7 separate regions of the Homo sapiens genome follow, and all the other regions are linked to region 6. Evidence: promoter capture Hi-C in human tissues and cell types (Jung and others, 2019). All regions are on one chromosome and are shown on one strand. Each heading gives the region's core, a stretch centred on a gene start or on the middle of the fragment in contact. The rest is flanking DNA. Distances are from core to core; before and after follow the strand shown. Region 1 overlaps ANKEF1 (ankyrin repeat and EF-hand domain containing 1). Region 2 overlaps MKKS (MKKS centrosomal shuttling protein). Region 3 overlaps SNAP25-AS1 (SNAP25 antisense RNA 1). Region 4 has its middle 4.5 kb from the start of PARAL1. Region 5 overlaps MKKS (MKKS centrosomal shuttling protein). Region 6 holds the start of SNAP25 (synaptosome associated protein 25). Region 7 overlaps PARAL1 (PPARG activating RBM14 associated lncRNA 1).

Evidence for each region. The method cuts DNA at HindIII sites, captures the fragments that hold promoters and counts their contacts. A contact is called where the count stands out against the background at its distance.
Region 1: a contact is called between a fragment that was not itself captured here and the fragment with the promoter of SNAP25 in region 6, in 1 of the 25 tissues and cell types used here (dorsolateral prefrontal cortex).
Region 2: a contact is called between a fragment that was not itself captured here and the fragment with the promoter of SNAP25 in region 6, in 1 of the 25 tissues and cell types used here (hippocampus).
Region 3: a contact is called between a fragment that was not itself captured here and the fragment with the promoter of SNAP25 in region 6, in 1 of the 25 tissues and cell types used here (dorsolateral prefrontal cortex).
Region 4: a fragment that was not itself captured here is called in contact with the fragment with the promoter of SNAP25 in region 6 in 4 of the 25 tissues and cell types used here (aorta, dorsolateral prefrontal cortex, hippocampus and 1 more).
Region 5: a fragment that was not itself captured here is called in contact with the fragment with the promoter of SNAP25 in region 6 in 1 of the 25 tissues and cell types used here (dorsolateral prefrontal cortex).
Region 7: a fragment that was not itself captured here is called in contact with the fragment with the promoter of SNAP25 in region 6 in 1 of the 25 tissues and cell types used here (hippocampus).

The regions. Positions count from the first base shown.
Region 1 is chr20:10,039,569-10,042,268 of GRCh38, reverse strand. The region is part of intron 3 of ANKEF1 (ankyrin repeat and EF-hand domain containing 1); the gene reads right to left. All of the region lies in intron 3 of SNAP25-AS1 (SNAP25 antisense RNA 1), which reads left to right. Among named protein-coding and RNA genes, the nearest start is that of ANKEF1, 5.9 kb to the right of the region's middle. The HindIII fragment of the contact is 3,991 bases long and covers 1-2,700 here.
Region 2 is chr20:10,425,497-10,428,196 of GRCh38, reverse strand. The region is part of intron 1 of MKKS (MKKS centrosomal shuttling protein); the gene reads left to right. All of the region lies in intron 1 of LOC128706665, which reads left to right. The region is part of intron 1 of LOC128706666; the gene reads left to right. Among named protein-coding and RNA genes, the nearest start is that of MKKS, 7.4 kb to the left of the region's middle. The HindIII fragment of the contact is 7,518 bases long and covers 1-2,700 here.
Region 3 is chr20:10,084,550-10,087,249 of GRCh38, reverse strand. All of the region lies in intron 3 of SNAP25-AS1 (SNAP25 antisense RNA 1), which reads left to right. Among named protein-coding and RNA genes, the nearest start is that of ANKEF1, 51 kb to the right of the region's middle. The HindIII fragment of the contact is 3,434 bases long and covers 1-2,700 here.
Region 4 is chr20:9,980,531-9,983,230 of GRCh38, reverse strand. No RefSeq gene overlaps it. Among named protein-coding and RNA genes, the nearest start is that of PARAL1, 4.5 kb to the left of the region's middle. The HindIII fragment of the contact is 5,770 bases long and covers 1-2,700 here.
Region 5 is chr20:10,405,325-10,408,024 of GRCh38, reverse strand. It overlaps MKKS (MKKS centrosomal shuttling protein), which reads left to right. Exons shown (of 6, transcript NM_170784.3): 5 at 299-409; 6 at 2,338-2,700. Among named protein-coding and RNA genes, the nearest start is that of MKKS, 28 kb to the left of the region's middle. The HindIII fragment of the contact is 5,196 bases long and covers 1-2,700 here.
Region 6 is chr20:10,217,536-10,220,235 of GRCh38, reverse strand. SNAP25 (synaptosome associated protein 25) reads right to left here and starts at 1,406. Exons shown (of 8, transcript NM_130811.4): 1 at 1,259-1,406. SNAP25-AS1 (SNAP25 antisense RNA 1) reads left to right here and starts at 730. Exons shown (of 5, transcript NR_040710.1): 1 at 730-999. The HindIII fragment of the contact is 5,357 bases long and covers 1-2,700 here.
Region 7 is chr20:9,997,526-10,000,225 of GRCh38, reverse strand. All of the region lies in intron 1 of PARAL1 (PPARG activating RBM14 associated lncRNA 1), which reads right to left. Among named protein-coding and RNA genes, the nearest start is that of PARAL1, 13 kb to the right of the region's middle. The HindIII fragment of the contact is 3,336 bases long and covers 1-2,700 here.

The sequences.
Region 1 (2,700 bases), core at 149-2,648, 180 kb after region 6:
ATATACCAGTGAAAATTACTGGCTAATTCATTTCCATGATAGCAAAGAAACTAAATATAACTTGTTCTAAAATGAAAGTGCAAAGATAGACCTGAATCTTAAGATTAAAAGGGTACGTTGGGTCTTAGGAAAAGTTGATTAAGAACAGTCAACAAGGCATGCCTAGGTAAAGCTAGGCAAAGAAAGTGTCTCATAAGAATCCAGGCAAAAATTCAACTAATCCATGAAGGGGAAAAGTCCAGCTGCCCTCAAAAATTTATCACAACAACATTCAATGCTACAGTATAATCAAAGGATCTCTACACTATAACTTGGGGAAAAAAAACAGGAAACTTTTATACCCAATCAAGACTTTGTTCATGTAAAAACAACAGACATGTATAGTCTTAAGGATATAAGTAATCAGGGATACAAGCCCAAAGAAGTGACTTAAACTACTTGATGGCAAAAGTGAGTTTTCCAAGAGATCAATAGAGAATATGTGACTAAAAGAACAGTCATAAATACTGAATCTCTTTAGCCACAGAACCAAAGCTAAGTCACCTTAGCAATTTTAGATAGAGAAAAATATATTGCAATTTGTAATAATGTAAAAATAATATAATTTATCAAAAATTTGAGGGAAGGAAGGAGAAATAGTATAAGTATTTGATCTTCTCATCTTTTAGGGCTAAGACTGAGATATTATGTAAAGCAGGTAAGGAAATAAAGTACAAGGTACTTATTATTTAAAAGGGAATCATTGAAAGAACTAAGTAATTATAATTGAGTATAAAATTGAGTGGTAGAAGGGAAGTAGCAGAGGTAAGAGGAAGGGTTATTGTACTAATCTTATCTAATTTATACTATTGTACTAATCTTACTAAACAGAGTAAAGAATCAATGAATACTGTTTAAGATGCTAACTCAATAAACAGGTTTAAGGGCATATGAAGTATCAAGTTAACCATTAAAATAACTAAAAAAAAATAAAAAAACTAAAATAACTAAAAAGCCCATCAATTTTAGAAAATACACTTACAAGCATATAAAGAAAAACACACATATACAGCAAAGTAAAACAAATCTATGGACCATATATGACAATACTTTCACATGTATTTTATATATTAGATATATTTTGCCTTCACAATATAAAATAAATGATGTTTCTGAAACCAACCCTATGGGAAATCTAGATAACTATAAATTGGATAAATTCCACCATTAAAATAAAAAATAAAATGTATATGAAAATCAAAACCTAAATATATTTTATATAAACTGATGTACCTAAAGTAGGGTTACTCAGAACAGTTAAAAAAAAAAAGAAAAGATTGTCAAGGTTATTATTGAAAAGAGAAAGTCAAAGAAAGAGCAAGACATAGAAGGCAGGAACAGAGCAAAACAACAACAGCAACAGCAAAACAACCTAAGCATAATACCCGAGGAGGCTGAATTCATTACAAAAGGCCCAGAGCCACTTATGAAATGAATATTTCATAATGATGGCATGTGCAACACACAGTTAAAGTGTATCTGGGCTGACTCCTTAAGCCACAAAGAACACGAATCAGCATTCCTAAATTGAAGGGAAAACAGTTTGAAAAATATTGTACCTTATCATAGAACTGGCATACGGCATTGAGGACTGAGTACACATGCCTGTAAATGCAAAAACCAATGGAATGGGAATGGGTGCTATAAGGAACTATTATAGCTTAACTTTTAAGGAGAATGATTCCACATTGTAATTAATTCCCTAGGACAACATACAAGAAAGAATGTATTGGCTTAGAGCTTTACCTTCTCCATATTCTGTAAAACTGTTCCAAGAGAAAGTGCCGCTTAGGCCTAGGGCATGTCTCACATCCTAAAGACCCACTTAGCCATTTAAATGTTTGCTTATCCTTTAGGAACGATGTACAGTGAGTCAAACATGAGTCACCAGAAAATAGGATGTCAATGACAGAGAGGGTACTGTGGAATAAGCAAAGCACTTTGGCCACTGGCAGCCAAACTGAGGGATGTGCAAGCTGAGTGAGCCTTGTTGATGTGGGAAGAGACAATGTACTCTGTACAATGGGCACTACCTTGGGTTATGCAGAGTGAGGGCTGCAGGCAGCCATCCTAACAAGCTTATGTGTGAAACAAGATTTTACATTTGTTTCCTTTTATAGTTTCAGTTCTGCCCATGAGATTTGTTTCCTTTAGCCATATGCCTGTTGCATTTGCTGCAAGTATTTACTTGACCTTGTTTCCAATTTTACCTTGATTTTTTAAAAAAAATTTACACTTTTACATTGTTACACTATAGAATTTCTTTTTTCTTTGTGATTTGTATCTGTTTCAAACTCAGTAAGTTAAACGTTTCTCTATTATAGTGTTTCCCAAAGGTTAGTCCACAAAACTCCAGGCATATAAGATGTCATTAAAAAAAATTATTTTGTGGTCAAATAAATATGGAAAATGTCACCATTTTTGAGCCAACAATGTGAAAGATAAATGCCTAAAATGTGTCTCTAATGAATGCGACCGTGGAACCAATTTTGCCTGTAGTACTTCTCAACATCCTGGCAATTCAGTGGTCCATGGAACACACTTTGGGAAATGGTATACTATAGAGCTTTGAGAGGATACCGTTTTTTCAGGATTTAGCATTTCAAAGTACATCTGGCCCCTGAATGCATCTGAAGTTTATTTTCTTACGTGGTACAATTA
Region 2 (2,700 bases), core at 152-2,651, 210 kb before region 6:
TAAACCACTACAACCATTGTGATAAACCACAGCTTGCTGGTAAGCTAGTTTTCACTTCTCATTAGTTGTTAATCACTTGCTTAATATTTGAGACTGCCTACAATTAGTGAAACCCCCATATAAGACTTATGATGCTTTCAGTATATTTTTTATTTACAAATACATTAAATTCACAGCAATGAGCAGGGAGGAATAGCAAAAGACATAAGATACTTACGCATACCTGTTTCGGCCTTCTGACTGCAGATCCACTCCTGACTCAGTTACGCTGTTAGCAGCCCAGCTCTTGGATATAGGTCAAGCTGACCTTGAATGGTTTGGTGGGGAAGGTGGTAGGATTTGCAGAATGGAAACTTTAGAACTCAATTATGATCCATGGGTTCATTAAGAATTACAGTATTGTTTTTGGGGTGTGTGTTTTTACAAGACTGGAGAAGTCCAGCAAAATGAGTGTTATTTTAGGTGATATAGTTGGAAAAGAAAAAGGAAAACGATTGTTCTGTTTACCATGTCAGTTCATTTCATAGCACAGTTGAAGACCACGTGCAGTCTTTTCTATTGTGTACACAGAAAAAATGCCACAATTCAAACTGCTGTATTAAAAATTGAGGATAAAAAATAACTTTTGAATGTTGATGATGAGAATTCAGAAATGAAGAATTCACAAATACCTAAAGCCAACATTGTCATTGTAAAAGAAAAGGCATAGTACAATTCCAGTAAACTTCATAAAGTTTCATTATCACAAGAGCTGGGTTAATTGGTTTTTAATATTCTATCTAATGTTCTTCTCATGATTAAATTACATTCAGTGGAAGTTTTTAAAAATTACAATTTTTTCAAATCACAACAGCAATTAAGACCAAAAAGAATCCGTTTTACACTGTGTCCAAAAGGCCAGCAGATGGCGCCCAGCAAGCCCAATAGGCAAAATGAGAACATTTGATGTAACATTCCCTGCATCCAAGTTATTTTAGGCCTAATTTTGCAGGAAGCAATTAAAAAAACTTGATGGCTTTAACTAATACTATGCTAGATAGAATAATCTGATGGCTAGATCCAGCTGTTTGGGAAGTTCTAGGAAGCTTGCTTGCCTTTTTGCCCTTAACCTTACTTTGTGTGTGTGTGTGTGTGTGTGTGTGTGTGTGTGTGTGTGTGTGTGTGTGTCAGTGTTTTCTTTTCTTGGCCTTTAAGCTACTCTAAAAGATTACAGTATTTATAATGAGGTAGAAGCATAGCAAGTTCTCCCTCTTCTGTTCATTAATCTCTTGCTGTCATTCTATACTGAGAACTAAATTAAAGAAAACTGAACTAACCCAGCTAATCTCAACCATTAGTAGGTCACGGATGTGTTTTTGGAGGATATAGACTCTTTTGCCCTCTAATTTTTTTGTTTTTCTTACCTCCAGAACTGTAAGATGCCCTCTAATTTTGGACAAGTGAAATGACAGCTGTTAACCTTTTATATACCTGACATGAAAATCAGCCAAGGACATGCCACGGGGCGTGCATGGCTCATGCCTGTAATCCCAGCACTTTGGGAGGCTGAGGCGGACATATCACTTGAGGCCAGGAGTTGAGACCAGCCTGGGCAACATGGTGAAACCCCGTCTCTACTAAAATACAAAAATTAGTCGGGCATGGTGGCGTGGGCCTGTAATCTCAGCTACCTGGGAGGCTGAGGTACGAGAATCCCTTAAATCTGGCATGCGGAGGTGAGCCGAGATCACACCACTACGCTCCCCCTTGGGCAACAGAGTGAGACTGTCCCAAAAAAAGAAAAAAGAACAACATGCCAGGCATGATGCCCCAAGCTAGTTGACCTCAGTGATCCTCAAGGGTGTGCCTCACGCCCTCCAAATGTTCCCCTCATCCGTGATCACACACTGGAAATCCTGATAGACAGTACTGCCCAAGCTGGGGCACTAATTCTTGACTTGAAGAATTGCTTAGTAGAGTACTAGGCAAGACTTTAAAGACTTCACATCTAAATTGAATGCCACAGTTAACTGACAGTAATCTTAGAATCAATCATTTAATGTTTCTTCATTTATAAAATGATCTCATAAAGTTGCTATGAAAGCAAAACAAAATGAAAAATATGAAACTTTTGAATAATTTAAGACCATACTTTTGAGAGAAGAATATGAAAAGCATAATCCACATTAAGATTGCCTCTAAACTTTTTCTAAACTTAACAAAAGACATTTTAGTAAATGAAACTATAAATATCAACTCTATTTTACTTGATCTAAAATTTACTAATCTCATTTCATGTCTCTTGATTTCTCTATCCTTCTAAAGGAGTCTTTTTTTAGAAATATGTTTAAAGAAGATTCAGGAAAGAAAGAAAGGGCAGTGGCAAGTACATTAGAGGGTAAGGAAGGGAAAAAATCTCATTTCTCTTGTTGCTTTGCTCCAAACTTGAAAAGTTCAATAAATGAGCATCAAACACTAACTTATTTTAGGGATTAACCAGTTACTGCTCATCAAATCTGATCATTTTGAGCTTATTCTTGAGAAATCTTTGTTTTAGACTCAGAATCTCTACAAGACAGTCCATGCCTCTTGGAACAACTTGCCAAGTGTTTTGAGGGAAGGACCATCTCAAGGCAAACTGTAAATAGCTTAAGTTTGTTTCACAAATTGGATCTCCCAGTCTGTCTGCTTCTCAGTATCATGAACCTTTCTAAAAGTCAA
Region 3 (2,700 bases), core at 83-2,582, 130 kb after region 6:
TGCCTTTTCTTTTTATTGAAACTATGCATCATAATTTTAAACAGATTCAGAATATTCTGCTATATGGATGTACTCTATTATTCCCTCAATACGGGACAGGAAGGTTGATAAATATAAGTTTTGGCCCTTATGATTTTGAAGGCATTCTATATCTAAAGACAATTAAGATAAATGGTAGAGGTATTATATTATAGACTTCCCCAGCAGTTTCAACAGAATGCCTACTTTTGTTCATTGAGACCTGGCTACACAGTTGGCAGTCCTCCCCAAGTGAGTGCTCCTCATTCCTTGCTTTCTCATCCCCCAGCCCCTACTCTGCTACCCTTTACTTTTCCCCATATAGCAGACACGATTGATGCCCTATTTACATATCATCAATACTCAGTATTCCTGCACATGCCAATGGTTTCTTACTGCAAGCACCTTGGATTCTCTGCTTAAGGACTTTCTTTGGCTGCAGGAGCATGATCAGTTATGCGTGGGGCAGTCTAGGAGTGCCCAATGGGCCCAAGTGCAAATGGGAGTTAGTAGATAAATATCCCAGCTCCTCATCACACATGGGGAACAATTTGGAGCTGTGTTCTACATAGAGCTTTCCGTGGGGACTGATTTCCAATTACCCACTCATTAATGCACCTGTGTTAGCTTCCTTTCCTTCACTGTCTCATTTCCACATTTTCCTACAATGGTTCCTGGGGTCACCTCACAAATAAACCATCTGGACTCAAACCCTTGTTTCAGTGTCTGCTTCTGGGGGACCAGTGTAAGACTCCCCTCCTTCTTAATTATGAGTTCTAGCACTCTCCAGCTTAGACTTTCCCTCTTTTTTTTTTTTTTTTTTTTTTTTTACTAAAGTGGAAGCTAAAAAGTCTAAATGATTCAACATATATTTTAAGGAACAGTGTAAATATGCAAAACGGTGCCAGATTGCTAACTCTCTTTTCATCAGAACTACTGATAGGAATGCTCCCAAGAGGGAATAAATTATACAGAGACTCTGGTCTCTTTGGAGGTGACTTTGAACTGTTCTTTGTTTCTCCTCTCTGTTGTCCTCTCTCATTTCTCTCCTAATCTATTTCCTCTGCAATAGAAGAGAAATAGCTGACTGTTTTTGCTACCAACTCCTAATTAAGTTTCCAGATACACCCATAAGCAGAGGTGTGATGATAGGCTTGTTATAAAGCAAGTTTATATTCATTTTATGTAATTAATTGTTATTACTGGTTACTAAAGACTTGATGTATGCTGCGTATTTACTAGGTTCTGCAGGAGATTCTGCAGAGATTAAGATGTTATCTTTGTAGGGAAGATAAGACACATTACACAGCTGGACTCATGCAGGGACAAGTGTGATGTGTCAATTGAGGGGCACACATAGATCAAAACCAATAAACAACTCTAGATATTCAGAGAAAGCTGTGGTTCACTCTGGCTGGATTTTGAGAAAGCTTCATGGAAGAGGCTAGGAATGGATGGGTTGGGTTTTAATAGGTAAACAGGACAAGACACAGAGAAGAGAGGTGTTCCAAGTCTTCCCCATCTCAATTCCTAGGGGACTTCGATTTGCTGTTAAAGGTTGAGACTGCTGCTTCCCTGCTCTCCCCTCCTTCTGACCTCAGTAGGCCATAAAACTTTCAGTTTCTTTCTATTTTAGTTTCTCTAATACCCAATGGGGGAAACTATGCCATCTTTCTGATGCAAACAGACTAAGCCAGTTCCAAGCCAAACTGTAAATTAGGCATATCAGTTAGAAATTCATTTAATTTTAGATATCACATTAGATATCACCCATCTAATAGGGGCTTAAACAAAATGGACACTAATTTTAGCTCTAAGAAAAAGAAGACTGAGGCATTTGTTACTGGGGTTTAGCTAACTCAGCAACATCATCAAAGACTCATGCCTTTTCCATCTTCCTACTCTGCCCTCCTTAAGCTGTTGATTTTTCAACCTCACACTGCTCCCCTCCTGGCTGCACCTTGGCTGCATTAGTTTCAGGAATCATGACTGCCTTCAAGGCAGGAAGAAGGGAGAAGAGCAGTAACAAAAGTCTGCTTTTTTCATGACGGCAAAAGTATTTCCAGGAGTCCCCTGCAAAAAAAAAAAAAAAAAAAAAAACATGTATCACTGGCTACAAATGCATCATATGGCCACCCTAGCTGTAAAAAATTCTGGAACTTGAGTATTTCACTCCTTAGATTCTATAATTATACAAAGCAAGGAAAAAGGGCCAGGGAATGGCTACAATGAAGGCTACAAATTCTGCCTTGTCTTACAGGAAACTTTACTTGCTATGGTTAAGACACTCAGAGCGTCTCTCTGTCTTAGCTGAATAACCAGTGTATTAGTCAACTGTTACCTCAGCCATACTGCGCAACAAACCACCCCAAATCTCAGTGGCGTTTAATGATAAGCATTGATGATCACACTCACAGAGTTGCTGATTGGCCAGGGTGCCTCTGTTCCATATGTCTCACATTCTTCTAGAATAGAAGAATGGTGTGGCAGAAACCAAGAGGAGTGAGCAGAAAGGGATAGCACTTCTTTGGGTGTAGGGTCAGAACAGTACATCCTCACTCTTTCCCATACGTCACTGGCCAAAGCAAGCCACATGGGACAAAGCACACTTTCTAGAGGAAGGAACTGGAGAGTTCTTGGGCAAGGACATGGGTATGGGGAAGAGTGAGGAATGGGAACATT
Region 4 (2,700 bases), core at 148-2,647, 240 kb after region 6:
CCAAAACTTTGTTTTCTACTGATACTTGCATACAATTGCCTATGCTAATAGATTAAATTTCCTCAGCCTTTAAGGTACCTGATGGTAAATTTTAATTAAAAATAACTTCTTTTAAAGAATAGATTTTGAAAGGAAAGATAGAAAAGATTAAAAGATAGGAAAAGAGGAAAGGGGAATTGAGGCATTAAGAAACATCATGAAATTGAAGGCCAGGCCCGGTGTCAGGAGCCTGTAGTCCCACCACTTCGGGATGCCAAAGCTGGAGAATCACTTGATTCCAGGAGTTTGAGACCAGCCTGGGAAACATAGTGAGATCCTGGTCTCTATAAAAAATAAAAAAATAAGCCGGGCATGGTGGCTCATGCTTGTAGTCCCAGCTACTCCGGAGGCTGAGGTGGGAAGATCACTGGAGTCCTCACTGCACTCTATCCTGGGAGACAGAGGGAGGCTGTCATTGAAAAAAAAAAAAAAGAATTCAAAAAAAAGAAAGCAATACAGAACAGTTGGGCTCAGAGAAGATTATAGCAAACTTCACCTACTCTACAGATTTGGATCTCCAGGTGCCTGGCTAGTGAGAGACCATGAGGGCATGAATTGGGATTGTGGCTTTTCATGTCCTTCCACATAAAAGCAAGTGTGATTTCAATTGTAGATTGATTTGTGGCTCAAGACTAAAAGGATCACAGAAATTCTTTTTATCAAGTTCAAGAACTTTGGGTTCTTATCATAGAACAGATTTATGTAAAAGTTTTTAGATCTGAACTAAGTGTGGTAGAGAACAGTGCTTTAAGATATAAAGTAGTTTGCTGACATATATTTTATTGATGGATGAGTTTTTTCTGAATATAAATCAGATCTTATTTTTGACTGCCAAAAATCACGTTTAACTCTTCACCCTAAAGAGCTCCCAAAATATACTTCCAATTATTTAAGATGCATTTTAAACCAGTAGCAATGAAGACTTGAGTCAATTTTAAACTACTGCAGTTAACTCTTGCAGCTAAATCACCCATTTAATATCTCTTACTTTTCAGATCATCAAATCCCATAAGACTTACTATAAATCTTTTCACTTCCACCCCAAAATGACTTGGGCAGATACATTGTGAATTAAATGATGCTATAACTTGATTTATGTACATCTGGACTTTCAACCCAATGGCTTCCCAGAACTCAATCAATCTTTATGAAGTCCTGGTAACGTACTCCAAAAGAACTGCAATGCAGTGACTTATAAATGAAGCCTGGATTTTTGCCAATGTTACTAAATAAGGAGCTGTACGACCTGGCCCATGCTTTATAGCTGCTGAAGGAGGAGCAATTCCACTCTGGGCTCAGCAGCTCCCTGGGCTATGTTTCCTGCCCTCTCAAGTCAACTACCATGCCCTGAAATGACTTTTAATTTTTTTCACTGTGCCACTGCTGAGAAAAGTAGAAAAGAGTTTCAATGCTTAGACTCCTTGAATATTTCTTTTATAGAGTTAGTTGAAGCTTCTACAGCTTGCTTGTATTTTCACCCTATTAATTTATTCAGATAGGAGCCTCCTTATGCCTAATATAATGTAATTCAGTAAGTCTGATCATTGTATTATCATTCCCAATATTAGGGGACTCTCCATCCTTATAAAGGATTAAACTTTCCTTCCCCATTGACATCAGGCTTGCTTTGGCCAATGAAATGTGGTCAGAAATGTCAGAAGCCAGTTCTGAGCAAAAGCTCTAAGAACCACTCTGTGGTTTCACATCATTTTCTTCTCACAGCCAGGGGCCTGGTAGGTCCCAGGTAGGGGCTGCTCATTCAGCCCGCATGGGCTTGAGATAAAGAGCCTAAGTCAATCTGTGATTGACATGTAAAATGAGAAAGAAAGAAAACTGTTTCTTGTTGTAAGCTACTAAGATTTGGAGGTAGGGGGTGTCTGGTTACTGTAGCATAACACAGCACAAGCTGACTGATACAATAAGCATCCTATATAGAAACTGTAAGAACTGCTTGAACAGGAGTAAACCAAGAAAGCTCAGCAAAGCTTTAGCTAAAGAGAGCAATATCTTATTTTCTTAAGATTTGAGACTTCTACACTTCTGTCCTATCATGCTTACGTATCCTTGGGAAAATATTGGAGACTGGGCAAGCTGCTTTCAGGAATGCTATATTGCCTATACTTGCAATCATCTAGTAATTTCCTTTTTCTTGCCAAAGTGAAGATAGGTCTGGAATCTTAAAGTCTGAAGACCACTCTCTTTCCCCTTCTTCCTTGAGGTCAGCATTAAACTGGCCACTATAGACTTCTCAGATGAGAACTTGTATCTGGGAAGAGTCTTGCAAGAGCAGGCTGACTCTATTCTGAAGCCTACAGAGATGGGTGGGCATGAAATTCCAGATAGCACTGTGGTCAAGTGCAGAGAAATATCTGTGGTATACCAGCCTACCACAGTCTCTGTGTAGACCAGTCTAGATGGCACTTATATTCAAGGGGAATGTAATTTTTGGCAAGTCAGGAATTATCCGAAGAAAAATGGAATGTAACTCAAGGAAGACCATCAGGCCACAAATCATTAATACCTTGGTTTTAAATTCAGTTGCATCTTTAATAGCTTGTTATATAAACTTTAATGTCTATTTTTACCTCTAAAAATGATGATGCAATGATTGTGTGAGTTTTTCAGACTATCTGAGTTTTAATTCCAGCTAGCTTACTTGTT
Region 5 (2,700 bases), core at 84-2,583, 190 kb before region 6:
TGACCCAGATATTTTGAGGCCATATATTCGTCTCAGTTTGAAGAGCTAAGTGTATATGAAAGAAAATACTAATCTGGCTCCGTGAAAACAAACTTCTGACTGAAGTATCTTCCCTTAATCTCTAAACCTTACTATTCAGAATGTATTAATCACATGACAACCTTGGCACCACACAAGTTTTGTTCTTTTGTAATTAAAATCACACTCTCTGTATTCACTATGATGCTTTGAGAGCATGATTTTTTGTGTGTTAATATGATGTGAACGTCTGATTCTGATGATTTGGGTTTTTTCTTAGCTCACGTGTCAGACGGCACTGCATGTCCTGCAGTTAACACTCAAGGAACCATGGGCTTTGTTGGGAGGTGGCTGTACTGAAACTCATTTGGCTGCATATATCAGACACAAGGTATGTAAGATAATCCTCTTCGGATTACCTGAATTCTCAGCAACTTTTGTTTTCTGAGATAATAAGCCAAAATCATAATATCCTATAGTCTTTTTGTTAGTTTTAACTTTTAGGTTCAGGGGTGCATGTATAGGTTTGTTATACAGGTAAACTTGTAGCCTTTAACACTGAATTTTTCAGTAGTCTAAATAAAGTAGATAATCAAAAACACTTGAGGGAAATAACAAGGTAAATATAAGGTAATATCCTTATTACAATGATTATTATAAAAATATTTAAGCAAGCGATCACGTTCTTTGAGTATTGTCTACATGTTCTGCATGTTGAAGCTAGCATTCTGTTATTGGGAGTTCTCTTAGAGATCTCAACTGCTGCAATACAGTAATAATTGATGTTCACAAACAAAAGGGCCAAGTTTCTACAGAATACTTCAGTATCTTCTAGAGCATCAAGAAAAGTTTCATTTATTTAAGCAATTCACATATTAGATTCTATTATAATTTTAAAATTGGTATTTATGTATGTTATTTATTAATTATACTAAATAGAATTTTTTGATTGGTCTAGGAAACTCCATTTCCTGACAGCTCTCAGATAAGTTTAGTGCATTGTTGTTCTGATTATTTCATAAGTACTGGCCTACTTTATTTGAAAATGGATAGAAAAAGGTATAGGTGTTTTCCAGATATTAGCAATCGATTCATTGGGTAAACATGCCCTGTCCTTCCCCAAATAACTTAGAATCTCTTTGAAGATAAAGCACATTCATGAAAAGTTATCAGAATATACATTATGGAAAACAAAATTTGTGCCAATCTATTGGTGCTGAATGGACAATAATGTATTCTGAAATGGAATTGATAAACTAGAGAAAGTTTTTTAGAGGAAGGAGGTGTCTTGAGTAGGAAAGTAGTCACTGTTTTTAAGCAGTTAAGATATGGATTTTTTAACCCATCATTCAGTTATTAGTTTGCTAATACAGACATGTTGCTTAACAAAGATATATTCTGAGAAATGCATCATTAGACAATATTGTTGTGCAAACAATATAGAGTGTACTTGCACAAACCTACATGGTAGAGCCTACCACACTCCTAAGCTATGTGGTATAGCCTATTGCTCCTAGGCTACAAACCCTTACAGCATATTACTGTACTGAATACTGTAGGTAATTGTAACACAATGGTATTTATGTATCTAAACATATCAACACACAGAAAAGGTTAGTAAAAATATGGCCTTATAATCTTATGGGACCACTGTTGTATATGCAGTCTATCATTGACTGAAGTGTTGGTATGTGGTGCATGGCTATATATTAATTTTTCTTTTTATCATGGAATTTCTAGGATAAACATTTTTAAATAGTGGAACCAGAAGACTGTTTAAGGTCTTATTACCTTTTCATTAATTTAAAGAGAAGAATATTCATTTTTAAAACATTGATATGAAAATTTACATCATGATTTCCAAATAAAAATATGTGCATTCCCATTTTAAGCAAATCTCAAACATTTTGCAGAGATAAATAAGTACTCCATTTGGGACATCAGTCTTCAGGAACTTCCTCCTGTGTGCAGAAAAACCTGTAATACATGTATTATGCCTAGTCCTTCATGTATTAAGGAGGCACTACCAAGCCTCATTCAGAATAAGCTGATGGTGGGGTTATTCTGATTCACTCATTCTGGTAACATGACTGGTAGTATATACATTTTTAATACATTTTTACTATAACCAACCTAGTTAAGGGTTTGCAACCCGGCCGGCTGACCCATACAAGCCCGTTAGCATTGTGCCAGACCCCAAATTAAATGAAAGTAAGTAATTACTTTAGGAATAAGATTTTGATTTCAGTATCTTATTTTTCTGAAACATTTTATATTAATTGCTTTGTATGTGTTTTCAATGTTTTTATTACTCTTTAGACTCACAACGACCCAGAAAGCATTCTCAAAGATGATGAATGTACTCAAACAGAACTTCAATTAATTGCTGAAGCATTTTGCAGTGCCCTAGAATCTGTTGTTGGCTCTTTAGAACATGATGGAGGTGAAATTCTCACTGACATGAAGTATGGACACCTTTGGTCAGTTCAGGCAGATTCTCCCTGTGTTGCTAACTGGCCAGATTTGCTTTCACAGTGTGGCTGTGGATTATACAATAGCCAGGAAGAACTCAACTGGTCTTTCTTAAGAAGCACACGTCGTCCATTTGTGCCACAAAGCTGCCTTCCACATGAAGCTGTGGGCTCAGCCAGCAACCTGACCTTGGACTGTTTGACTGCAAAG
Region 6 (2,700 bases), core at 157-2,656:
GAAGAAGGAAAAGGAAGAGTGATTCATTCTTAAAGTTGATTCTGCTTAGTTCAGCTAATCTCACATTTTTATCAAATGGAAACATAGAGAGAGATGTATCATCCCTATAAACAGATAGCATTGGCTTCTTCATATATACAGTACTTATGCTCACCCAAGATCTGTAGACAGATCTACTCTGTGTTAAAAAACAAAACCAAACAAAAACCTTGATACCCTGCTGGAGGATAAATCCATATTTTTTAAAAAATGTATTTATTTTCTACGTAAAATAAGGGTCAGAGGGCAACACAGAAGATTTCCACAAGTAGACTATTTTGTTGAAGCTATGCAGGAGGTGAGGAGGGGAACAGGAAATTGTCTGCAAAGGAGTCTCTGTGAGGAAGATTTATTTCTTTCTTGTTTTCTTTTAAGCTACTATGACTCCTCTATTAAGGGTCTCCGTAAGACCGGGGTCTCAGGGAGACAATTTGGTCTCCAGCCCTGGCACATCCAGCCCCGGCCAGGCATTTCTGCCGCAGGCAGATGAGGCGCTGCGGCCGGACCGCTGTCCCCGGTGCTGAAAGGTCGAGGGCGCCCGCGCGAGCCCTCGGTGTTGCTATCCAGGGTGCTGAGCGCGGGCCGCCGCAGTCCCCGAAGCCAGCCCACCCGCGCCAGCCCTCCGCAGAGCCCTCCCACCCGGCACGACCCGCCCGCCTCCCGCCAGCCTGCAGTTGACGTGGAGCAGGCGGCATAAATCAAGTCCGCGGGGCATGGAGGCTGCTGTCGCTGCAGCAGCTCAGCTTGCCCGGGGCGGGAACTCCCCCTTTCTCCTTTCGCCTCCCCAGCACCCACACCCTGTCTCCCCCTTAATTCTTCCCTGGATAATAGCACCCTAACGACAACAGTCATAATAATAGGGTTAGAACGACAGGGGAGGAAAACTCAACAGCCTAAATATCTCTGAAAACTGCATCGCAAAATGGAAGAAAGAGGGGGTCCCACTACTGTTTCAAAAGAGTAAGTTATTATTCGGTACGTACCCTCGCTCTTCCTCCCCGTCGCTCCATTTGCAGGGCTCCCGTTTCCCTTTTCCCCAGCAGCTCACCTCGAAAACACTTTATAAAGCCCCCACCAGACGTGCACACACGGAATACCGCACCCTAAGTGCACCAATACTTGTATTTACCCAAGCCCACTCGGACTGCCCAGCTGCTGTCCCTTCTGGGTATGCAGCCATCCCGAGCCAGAGCCACGACCTGGGGAGGGGGGTTCTTACCTGGGCTTCTCGGGAGGGTTGTGTTCTCCGGGCCTCTGCAGGTTGCAACTGTGGTGGAGCCGCCGAGCAGGGAGGGAAGGAAAGACAGCGCCTGACCTCCCCGAGGTTTCGTCTTCAATGCAACGTGAGCTCTGCCCTCATCAAAGATGGCCGTCCGTTTTGACGTCAGCAGCTTTTAATAGCCGCCCAGCGAGGGGCGGGAGGAAGTGGGGGCGGGGCACGGCGGGGGCGGGGGCGGGGCCCGGGCTGCGGCGCGCTTGACTCGGTTCCCAGTGCGCTGGCCTGCAAACCTGCGTGTTTTCACCTTCTATAAACACCCGCACGGGGCGACTCTTATGACTCCATTTTAACACTCGGTCTTGGGCAAACGCGTTCATCCCGCAACTGCATTCCTGATGTTCTTTGGTGTGTGTGCGTGTGTGTGTACATATGTGTATATGTGTGTGTATGTATATATGTATGTGTGTGTATATTTTATAATACATGTATAATATATGTATAATTTGTGTGTATGTGTATATATTCCCCCCCACCCCCACCCCCACCCCCTTTCAGTGGAATCTGTGGTTGAGTCATCTAAGGAGAGGGGAAGGCAGAGGAGGGGTAAAAGGTAGTGATGGGAGGGGTGGGGGAAATTTCAGCGGCGATTTGTTTTCTCCGAAGAGGGTCCGTAGGGGCATCCCCGTCCACCCTCGCCAGCTCCATATATGGCCAGGCTACGTGGGTTGCTATTTTTATGAGTGATTGCTTCATGTTATCGAAGCAGCGTCGAGGGCTTGTGGCTCTCGTTGCTGTGGTCAGCCGGGCAGCGAGGCTGGCGCACGTTATTTTGAACTACGTCAGAGCCAGGCTCTCTGAGCTGTTGCAGGAGTCGGGGGAAGGAGAAGGGAAGCGGAGTTAGCCCAGCCAGCGTGGGTTTGCAAGGACTCGAGGCTTGAAGTTGAGTTGTTTGCCGAGGGCAAAAACGGATGACTCTGCTTTCGGTGGAATTTGCAGTCGGTGCTGGGGTTTCATGCTGGGTGTCTTAGGGGTACCCCACGGAGGCACAGACGCCCCGAGGGAACCGTCCAAACGGCCGGGAGGAGGTGGGGGATTCAGAGCAAGGACGGCTGGGACACGGCCGAATCTGGGGGTTCACTCAGTGCGCAAACCCCGGGGTACCCGTGCAGGCTGCCTCGGGGGGCCCTCGGATGCTCAAATCAGGGCGGGGAGACAAAGGCTACTTGTGCTGGTCGTATTAGAGATTAAAAGTGATAATTATAAAGCAACAACCCTAACTGTCCTCCCTGGCCGTGCCCGGGCCCGGGAAGGGGGTGGTGCGCGGATCGCTCGGCGGTGGCAGCCTCCCGGATGATTCACAGGTGTTGGGGAGGCTGTCGCGGGGCTCTCCGCAGGGAGGGAGGGCTGGGGAGCGCGTGGGAGGTGGGGGACCTCGTCTGAGG
Region 7 (2,700 bases), core at 27-2,526, 220 kb after region 6:
GCTTATAAGCTTATGGGCCAGCTGGATGTTCCTGTGATCTCACCTGGACTCCCTCATGCATATGTGGTTCACTGTGGGTCAGGTATGCAGCTCTGCTAAACTCGGGGGTCTCTCTCCATGTTTGGGAGACGGGTGGCTGTAGCTGGTCCAGGCTGGGCTCCCCAGGGATGGTTGTGATCTGCTCTTCATGTGCTCCCATCCTCTAGCTATCTTCTGGAACTTGTTCCCAAGATGCTGGCAGGACTCCAACAGAAAGGGAGCAGAAGTGCCAGGTCCCTTGAGACCCAGGCTCAAATCTCTATTGGCCTTGCCAAGTCCAAAGGCCAGCCCAGATTCAAAAGGTGGAGAAACAGATGCCACCATCCTCTGCAGGGAGGAGTTAGTTGCACAGTCACATTGTCAAGACCACAGATGATTGAGGAACTGAAACCCTTTGGCAGCGGGCTCTCCATATGCTACTACTTGGAATTAGAATCCTTTTGTCTTCATGCTACCCTCTCCTTGACTCATGCAGCCCAGGCCTTCTCAGGGCCTGGAGCATTTTTCATTAACAGGAAGACTATTTCATCATGTAAAAAAGATGGAATGAAGTCTGCTGTGTGGCAATTCATTTGGGGGCTCTTATTAATGTGTTGTTCTGTGACCTATGTCAATATGTTCACTTTGAAGTTTCAAGATGATCTCCACCCTAGGATAACTGAAAATGTTTACATACCAATTTATGAACTTTGCAAAAGACTATACTTTTCAAACTAAAGACAAAATTGTTGGAGAAAATTTATATTTATTCACATTTGTATTTTATATTAGTGTTTATAAAACACTAATACGTTTAAGAAAGATGGATTTTATATATAGCTGCTCATTGATTTTATTATAGTCATGTTCATTTTCAGGGATGGTATTTCTCATTGAATGATTAATTTATATCTCTGAGATCTGTGATATATAAACACAGTTCCATGATTCCACAGCATTTATGTTTGTATTATTTTTCTCGATCATACTGTAAGTACTCTCCAGTTAAATGAATCTAGCTGTAAAGAATATAACACCTAGAACTAAAAAGTCTTTCCAAATACATTGCCTAAATTTGGCAGGCTTACTTCAGAAACATAGTCTTGTTTTTTTTTTTTTTTTTTTTTTGTTGTTGTTGTTTTGAGACAGAGTCTCGCTCTGTCACCCAGGCTGGAGCGCAGTGGTGTGTGATCTCAGCTCACTGCAACCACCACCTCCTGGGTTCAAGTGATCTTCCTGCCTCAGCCTCCCGAGTAGCTGGGACTACAGGCACGTGCCACCACACCCAGCTAATTTTTGTATTTCTAGTAGAGACGGGATTTCATCATGTGGGCCAGGGTGGTCTTGAACTCCTGACCTCAAATGATCTGCCTGCCTCAGCCTCCCAAAGTGCTGGGATTACCGGCATGAGCCATTGCGCCCAGCCTAAATCTTGTTATAAAATAAATCTGTGATTGGCTCTTTTGAACTTGTCAAAACTACCAATGACATGAAATCATGGGTTTTCACAGAGATGTTATTAAATAAAATTGCTAAAGATCAAAATCCAAGATGAAAAATAAATCCAGGATATATGTCTCAATCATTTATTTCTTTTCTTTTCAGCAAACCATTCACACATAAAATGAAATGGAGAATTTTAGCAATCCTAAGTATTTTAACAGGGCTACTTTATTGAATTTTAGTAAGTCTTGAGATATTTATTGAGATAATTATCACGTATAATAAAAATGAGGAAAAAATTACTTGATTCAATGAGATATTTCTTTTTTTTAATTCATTCTTTTTTAATGATTATTATTATTATACTTTAAGTTTTAGGGTACATGTGCACAATGTGCAGGTTAGTTACATATGTATACATGTGCCATGCTGGTGTGCTGCACCCATTAACTTGTCATTTAGCATTAGGTATATCCCCTAATGCTATCTCTCCCCCCTCCCCTGAGATATTTCTTTTGTGGTCAATATCTATTAGGTGGTGGTATGCAATGGAAATTTTGAAACAATTATTGTGTCCCGAATGATTCATTAAATGATTAGCTAATTGATCATATTTATTATAATCTATTTCAGTCGATGGTCTCTAAGGACAAGAATTAATGTAGGAATGCCATTAGCCGTTTATAAATGAAAATTTTTGCTTTATTCTTAATGACAACTGACTACTAGCTAAAGACAAAGTAAATTAAATAAGTAAACAGTAGAAAAAAACTAGAATATATAGGGACTGTAGTCTAGACAAATTACAGTTATGTAATTTCAAAAGTGCATAACAATGTTTTAGTCAACAACCACATATATGATGGTGGTCCCATAAGATCAAAATGAAGCTTAAAAATTCCTATCGTCTAGTGAAATCGTAACCATCACATCATCACAGCACAATGCATTACTTGTGTTGTTTGTGGTGATGCTGGTGTAAACAAAGCTACTGTGCTGTCGGTCATATGGAAGCATAGCACATACAATTGTGTGCAGTACATAATAATGTATAATAATAATAAATATGTTACTGATTTATGTATTTACTATACTAGAGTTTTTGTTGTTACTTTAGGGTATGCTCCTTCTACGTATTAAACAAAAAGTCCATTGTAAAACATCTTCAGGCAAGTCCTTCAGGAAGTATCCAGAAGTAGGCATAGTTACCATAGAAAATGACAGCTCCATACATGTTAT